Linked DNA regions of Homo sapiens: region 2 is linked to region 1. The links are contacts of gene promoters, found by promoter capture Hi-C in human tissues and cell types (Jung and others, 2019). All regions are on one chromosome and are shown on one strand. Each heading gives the region's core, a stretch centred on a gene start or on the middle of the fragment in contact. The rest is flanking DNA. Distances are from core to core; before and after follow the strand shown. Region 1 holds the start of ING3 (inhibitor of growth family member 3). Region 2 overlaps KCND2 (potassium voltage-gated channel subfamily D member 2).

Region 1 (3,959 bases), core at 240-2,739:
ATTTTCTAGAATTGTTGCAGGGCACCAATCCTGAAATTCAGGAATCCCCTCAAATCCTAAGCATAATTTTAAAATTTTAAGGAAAGAAAAGGGAATAAGGAAGGAATTCAGACTTAGATCACTACAAAACTGCAAAAAGATGTCAAAGAGATGTTAAAAGCAGCCAGAAGAAGGAAGGATGGGAAACGAAGAAAGGAGGAAAAAAAGAAGGGAGAAAAAGATCGAAAGTACTTGATTTTCGATGGAAGTAATGAAAAACTTAACTAGAAACTATAAAATTCTAATTCTTATTAGGATCGAAGTAAGGTTCCGTTGAGATTCATCATGATTCATCATTCACGACAGGAAAGTTTCCTGCTTAAGAGCAGTGAAAACCTTGAGTACAAGAGTATGTAATGGAGAAGGAAAGCAAGAAACACACACACACAGTTTCAACTGCAATTTGAAAAACAGAAAATGAACAATAAATTATGAACTAATGACAATTTCCCCAGAAAATCGAAAAGTTAAGAAGAGTGGAAAATAACAATATCTAGCATTTATTGAGTGCAAGAGTTTTTAATAAAAAACAATTTAAAAAGAAACTGAGTAGGGACGTACTAAATATATCACAGGAAAACATTTGCTGGGAGAGGTCGAAAAGTAGAAACTAAAGAACGCCGAAGACAACCAACCTCGAATATGGACTATTTACTCAACATAAAGTTACTGCTATTAACAGCCTATTAGAAATCAAGGCTGCATCCGTAATTCATGGCTGCTCACTGTGATGATGAAGATTATTATTATTATTATTTGCGGATGCAGATTGTATGTATAGATCAATTACATTAGAATGACGATTAGATGGACCGCAAACTAGAATATATAAGTGGCTACTGACACTATTTGTGCATCTTTTAATCTGGGAAATGTATATTCACTCCATAGTCTCAGTATAAACTATTTTAAAATTACACGTAAGCCAACCAGGTGTCTCTTTTATATTTTAGAGTGAATAATGAGGATAAATTCCAGTAGAGAGTTCTATTTTAAGCAATCCAAATTCCCCGAACTTTGCTGATTATTCTAGTGTTTAGAACCTTTGCTATTTGCCTGGCACTTCTTGAAACCCATAACTCACAAACGCCGGGGCATGGAATCACATCAAAGAACAGGTGAAAAGTTGTTCCTAGTTGTGTTATGCAGGTGCATACAACTCCCGCCATTCTCTGTGCAAAAATCAACAAATAAACAGAGGCACCGCATTTCGGATTCTGTTACGCACTGTTTGCAATGGCGCCCGGTATTCGTAGTTTCTGCGAGGGGAGCCGCCAGCGCGCCAACCCTCGCTGAGGAGGAAGAAAACTACATTTCCCACAGAGGCACGGGGGCGAACACCGGCCGGGCTACGTCATTGCTTGAACCAACCAATAGCAGCTCCGGGCGGCAGTGAGGCAAGCGCCTCAGGCGCCAAAGTGGTTTTTTTTTTTTTCTTTTTTTTTTTTTGCCGGAGTCGAGCGGGTGCTGCTAGCGGAGGCGCCATATTGGAGGGGACAAAACTCCGGCGACAGCGAGTGACACAAATAAACCCCTGGACCCCCTTGTTCCCTCAGCTCTAAGGGCCGCGATGTTGTACCTAGAAGACTATCTGGAAAGTGAGTGCGCGGCGCTGGCGGCGGCCGCCAGTGGGACGTGCGGGCGGGCAAGAGCGCGAGTGGACGGGCAGCGAGATGGCGGGAGGGAGGGGGCGGCGGGGGATGTTTCTTTCTCACGGTAACTGGCAGCCTCGTTGTGGGCTGCCGGCCCCCTCGACCCCCCTGACGCACGCGCGCAGTGACGTAAGCGCGTATTTCGCCGTTGGCCCCGCCCCTCTGACGGACTCTCCCTTTGACAGTGATTGAGCAGCTTCCTATGGATCTGCGGGACCGCTTCACGGAAATGCGCGAGATGGACCTGCAGGTGCAGAGTAAGTCGGCGCGTCTACTACTCCTGTTCGCTGCGCGCGTTCAGTGCCAGACTTGCTTGTCATCACTGCTAGCGCCTAGTGCTCTTTCACTGTCCTCTGGCTCACTCCGCTAGTGCATAAGGAGTTGTCAAAAAGAACTGGCAGCCCTGAATCTCGCCTTCCCCTTCCCTCCCATGCTACTTTTTTCTGGCTTTTGCAAGAGCAGGAGGCATTGGGACACGTGTATTCCTTTCTAGAATGTGGGATTGTGCAAAAAATATTTCTCTACCGTCATTGACATAGTTATCTATGTTTCAATGGACGTCAGCATAATAAATGTTGAGATGTCGTCTTGAGCCTTTTCGTATCGAACTTAGATTTCAGCATTTATACTTATTTTAAAGTTCATCCTATTCACAGTTTTTCAAGAGTGGAAAGCACAGAAGCAGAGGTTATATATAGCTCTTTAGAGACCATGGCAAATGTCAAATTTTGAAAACTTAGTTACACATTAGATACATTTTAAATTGTAACAGAATCGTCATTTTCTTGGTTAAAATGAGTGACAGAAATTAGATTTCACTGTAAAGTTTCTTATGTGCTGTACTAAAAATTTTAGCAGTTAATGAACATTTCTTTTTCTTTCAGTGATAGCTTGGTAGTCTCTAGGACTTTTTCCCCAAATTAACTTTGCTCTTTCATAGAGCAACGACTATAAATAGGTGGCTCAGGGACCACCTGCTGCAGCTAAGAACCTGTCCTTTTCACTGCTCCTGGCTTCTCTGCCCATGACCACACACCCACTTCTATACCCTTTGCTTATGAGTATATTTTTCCGGTAAGTTTCAGGTGGCACATAATAAAAAGTGGTGGCATGGAAGCCACTTTCTGTTCAGTGGATTGTGATATGAAGTATGAATTGTGTGTGTGGTTCTCCAGCTATCTCACAAATTCATTTTAATTTTAGTGTAGTTGAAATGCTGAAGATTTGCTGAAGTAGTGTTCTCTGCAGGACTGAGCACAGACATTGATGTCAGATCTGAGTTTGTTTTAGGGCTTTACTAATTTACTCATTGACTCTGACTGTATTATCACTTGTGAGGGGCTTACATTGTCTATAAAAAGAGAATCATCCAAGGATTTAAAATGTTACACATGGATTAGAATTTCTAGTATCTGATACAAAGTAGGCATTAAATAAAGGGTAACTTACTTTAAATTATTTTTATATTTTATTGTTTAAAATTTTAAATTCTCTTGTAATTTGGGCTTACATTATACATATTACAGGCTTTTTAAACGTGCATTTCTTTACAGTAACTAGAATTTTCTAAAGTTAATAGGTATTATGGATTAACAGAACTGTGTGCCAAATAAATTCAGAAATGCTTATTTAAACAAAGGAACATACTTCTAAAAAATTAACCATAGGACTTCATAGAGTCTTTAAAAGGCTATTGTGGACTGGAAATCTCCAAAAGAAGTATATTATGAAAAGATTTTTCTCAACTTACATAACAACAGAATCTTTTTTATTAATTTTTCCTTTTTTTTTTTAGCAGACATCCAATGAGATGATTAGTCTTGGCATATAATTTGGGGAAAACTTACCTAGAATTAATGTTTAAATGATTGTACCTACTACTTTCAGTTGGGATATGACATGATGAGATGTTTAATGCCATATACCAAATATTTTTATCACTTTTTCTTGTTAAAAGAAATGTGAGGATTATCTAATGGTGTTTTAATTGTGTTTCGGTACATTTGTCTGATTTAATACCATTAGCTTTTGACCTAAAGGCTTTATTGCTCAAAAATTATAGTATAGAGCCTATCTACTTTGGCTGTTGGAAAAAATTTTGAAGTAACAAAAACAAAAATAATCTGTCAATAAGGAAAATTGTAACTTTTTAAAGGAAGATAATTGAGGCATTATATATTTACACAATCAAAGCATAACATATTTAAGTTACTGGCAAGGTGAAAGAGTGTGTATTGTCAGATTTTTTCCCTCCCTAAATCAAACCAT
Region 2 (4,371 bases), core at 1,391-3,890, 670 kb before region 1:
TCTTATTACCATTTAGACAATTTCTTTAAAAGAAGGGATCATATTACTCATAATATAAAACTTAAGAATTTCAGGAGTGTTATTTTTGTGGTTCATCTCACTTTAATTTTAAAACAAAATTGTTTTCATCAAAGTGTTCAATATGGGAAAGTTGCTACATGGCATTTCTGTAAAGTTTATGTTTAGAGATAAATTTTATTATTTTAACGATATAAATTATATGCTGATTTCAGAACAAATTTGGGAAAGTAAAAATTTAATTTGTATTATATATTTATCTAAAACAAATACGGTGGCGTTACATCTTTGCTGCCAGAAAACTTAGCATAATTGCCATATTTCAATTTTTGTGCGTTTGGTGAATTACTATTTTAAGGAACAACAAAAAAGCAGAAAAGTTTTCACTTAAATTTTCATAGCGATGTATCAGGGAAATTCCTTTTTTAGAATGGCATACTTTGAAATAATTTATCATATGCATATATATGATCATATCTATGATATACGATAACATTATGTTATAATTATATATTATTAAAGAGAAGGATAAACTTTTAAATACTATTCTCCTGATACCTGTCAGTATTCTGATTATATAGCTTTGGGTAATGATGGGAGTATATCTTGCAGAATCATTTATGTAGAGACTTAAAGTTTACCCAGCTGTTACTGAAATGGGTGAAATTATCTTCCCTTGTGCCAACATCTATACATAACTATTGCTAGTGCATTAATATAAAACTCTTTAAAAGGTAGGAAGTACCAAAATTTATCTTTCTGGTGAAGTGCCATAATATGAGTAACATCTATTTTTATTTTGACATACTATGACATATTTGTGTAAAGTTCTTTATAGAAAATGTTAGTTGATGGAAGTTGAAAATGAACTTTTAAAGAAATGTAGAGAAATGTGGTATGTATTCCTCTTTTAGCCTTACAAGTAACCAAATCTTATGTGTCTTCATTTTGTTTTAGCCATCACTTGAATTAGAGACAATATTTGATGTGGAATTTAAAAATATGTATGTTAATCCAGCCTGTAGTACTTCAGCATTTACTTGGTTGCCAGACAGAGGTATTTCAGAAAAGGTTTAATATGTGTTATTTCAACATAGTACCCTAGAGAAAACGCTATTTTTAAATTTTCAGTGGGTCTGTTATGCTATTCTTTTTTATTTTTAATTTTCCTTTAGACTACTGATAAACTGTCTTATTTTATTTTTATATTTACATCATTTACTTCTGAACATTCCTCTCAATTATACTCATCTTTGAAAATGAGTCACAAAGTTCAAATTTCTTATTACCTGATCTCTACATTCCTAGTGGAAGAAAAGTGACCCATCATTTATTTAAAATTAATAATTTTGTTCATTTAAGAATTGTGTGGCTTGTCCATAGTTACATAATTGGATAGCAGCAATATTTTTTGAAATTTCACTTTTATGCTCATTTTCTTCTGAAGACCCTAAAACATTATCTAGAAATGTGTTATAATAATTATCGGGACTGCTGCTGATTATACAGGGATAAGAGAAGGAATACATTTGCTATTTATTCTATTAATGTAGTGCATTTCTCCCTTAGTTCTATTGATGTGACTCATTCCACATTCCTCAATATCACTGCTGGCTCTGCATTTATTCAAACAGCACTGGGGTTTATCATAATGGTGCCCATCTGATATAATACAACCTTGTATTCTCATCCAGTGAACTTTCAGGCCGTTTGGCGGCAAACTACTCAATGGTGAATCTTTTACCTGGCCTGATGGAAAAGAATTCAGTTATTTTGCCCTAATTTCCTGAAAGAGTTGGCCTATGAGTCATTAAAAATATGCAATTTAACTTCTCTTTCATTGAAAGAACACAAATGGTGAAATAAACATTCACTGAAAAGGAAGTATATTTTTTCCTTTAAAGTTGTGATAATGAATTCATTCCCTTTCCTCCCTTCTACTCTCCATATGTCTTATATTGTTTTCTAAGCAGGGATACACACACACGTATGCATGTATGTATGTATTTATGTACATATGTATGTATAAGCATTGCTCTCCCACTAGCTTCTGCAGCTAGATTTGATGATGTGGGATAGCGTCTGATATTGAAAAAAAAAAAAAAACCCCAGGGTGAAACACCATTTTTGTGCATATTTGCACTGCTCTTTGAATGTTTTGCCCTTTAGTTTTCTCCTTTGAGAGGCAGCCTTTACGTTGACCTTCTCCATGAAGGCTTTTCAGCCCCCTAAGCAAGCCTACGTCATTTATAGTTGGAATTGTGCTTGATATTAGTAAGTGTCATTTTTATATATAATTTATGGTTTTACCTCTTGACATTCTAACTAAATTGAAAGGCTTTTGAGGTTTGAGTGTATACCTTCTGGGGAGTTATTACCTAGTTCGGTGCTCAAATGTAGGAAAATATCTATGTTAATGTGTTGCTGATCATGGTGTGAGATGGCACTTGTACGCCATGGAGAGCTCCTTAGCCATGGAGCTGTGCCATCTCAACATTAGCAATAATCTGCTACTCTTAAGCCAAATTATTTTGCTTTGTTCAATGTTAAAAGTATTTACATTTGTTATTTGAACATTTTGTCCTCTCATCTACTAAATGTACCCTTTTAATTTTTCTCTTTTTGACTGGGAAGGGCTGTGAGACCTCAACTTTTTCATCCATAACTAACTACTCTGCAAAGGCTAGAATTAATGGCTACCAGTTGCCATTTTCTTGAACAGTTTGATTTCTGGTGAAGTCCAGGTAAATTGCGGATGCCTTTGGGAAGCATATGGAGATGCTTCATGATATAGGTGAATCAACATAGAAATATACTACCTTCCCTTGAAAGCCCAGTTCCTTATGTAAATACGAGTAGCTTAAAAAGCCCATGGGTCAACAGATACTTTGATGATGCTTCATCACTAGAAAGGTGTTCTCTCTTACCAGTAACACAAGCTGGAACTCTTGTTTTTCATCCAGGTTTTCTCATTTATGCATAAAATAGAATTTTTTAAAATAGGGAAATATTGTCTGTAAATGACATAGGAGATAGATGCAATTTCTGTCAGGAAAAGCTCAATGTAATCACCATCAGGAAGAAGTTAACATTCTAAGAAATTAAAAGGCAGATTACAAAATGTAAAGATAAATGTAGGTATATATTCTAGCATAACGCAATCCATTTTGCCTTGGGAATTTTGACAAGTCTATTATGTAATGATCTAAATCATTAAAAGTGTGGGGGGAGTAGGGAATGAGTTCCTAGAGGTTAATAATGGGAAAAAATAACATTGAAAGAGTAGGATGACAGTTGAGATAATGTCAAATAGAATGGGAAGATTTTGTTCTAAAAGTAAAAGGTCTTGTCTTTTTTGCTTTTATGTGGACCTAATTCTTCCGTCTTCTTCATTTTCTTCACTTTTAACAATATCAGTAATAGTGCTCTTGGAAACCCAAAATAACACCAGTAACATACACTCTCAGGGAATCAGACTGTGGCTCACAGAGTTCAATTCAACATAATAGACCTTTGTTGATCACTTGCTACCTGTCATTGACCACAGCAGTAACCAAAAGGTCAACTTTCTCACCTTAGGAACTATTTAAAACTAAAATAGTGGAAGAGTCAGAAATAAAAATGTAAATATATGATATAATGCCACGTAGAGATGAGTGCTATGAACAAAATACATCTGGGTAACAAGCCTGCTATTTTGCATAGGGGACAAACAAGGCTTTTCCAAGGGGTTGGCATTTAAGCCAATGGCTGATTAAAGTGATGAAATGACTTTCTGACTATCTGGATGAAGAGAATTAGAGGAAGAGAGAAAAGGAGTACAAAGACTTCAAGGTGGGATGAAGTTTCATCAATTCTATCTAATGTCCCTGTAATAGAAGCAAAGAGAGTAAGGGGCTTAGTAGCAAATGGAATCTGAAAAGTAGTTAGGACTAGACTATGTAGGATATGATAGACCACAATAAAGACTTCTGATTTCATTTAAGATGAAAGGGGGAGCCATTAGAGAGTTGTGAGCATGGTAGGGATAGGATATGATTTCTGTGTTAAAAGGAGCAAATGCTCTAAAACATTTAAAACATTTTTAAATGGTCAAATTAAAATTATTTACCATGAATAAATTTTCATCCTTCATTAGTTTTTTATATTTACCTTAGCTTAAAATTTATATCCAATTATTCAGGAGATTATCTAAAAAATGAGTATTTTCTAATACATAAGTAAATTGTTACTAATAACACAAATAAAACTAGTTCAAATGAAAACTGAATTCCATATTTTAGCTGAAAAGACAAGGCTAGTGCTCAGTGGATATGGAATTATTTGGGAACTGATGCAGATAATTATTTCTTT

Evidence for each region. The method cuts DNA at HindIII sites, captures the fragments that hold promoters and counts their contacts. A contact is called where the count stands out against the background at its distance.
Region 2: a fragment that was not itself captured here is called in contact with the fragment with the promoter of ING3 in region 1 in 1 of the 25 tissues and cell types used here (H1 embryonic stem cells).

What each region holds. Positions count from the first base shown.
Region 1 is chr7:120,949,288-120,953,246 of GRCh38, forward strand. It overlaps ING3 (inhibitor of growth family member 3), which reads left to right and starts at 1,490. Exons shown (of 12, transcript NM_019071.3): 1 at 1,490-1,637; 2 at 1,877-1,948. The coding sequence starts at 1,610. RefSeq lists an enhancer at 2,033-2,112. The HindIII fragment of the contact is 14,638 bases long and covers 1-3,959 here.
Region 2 is chr7:120,279,319-120,283,689 of GRCh38, forward strand. The region is part of intron 1 of KCND2 (potassium voltage-gated channel subfamily D member 2); the gene reads left to right. Among named protein-coding and RNA genes, the nearest start is that of KCND2, 8.3 kb to the left of the region's middle. The HindIII fragment of the contact is 9,212 bases long and covers 1-4,371 here.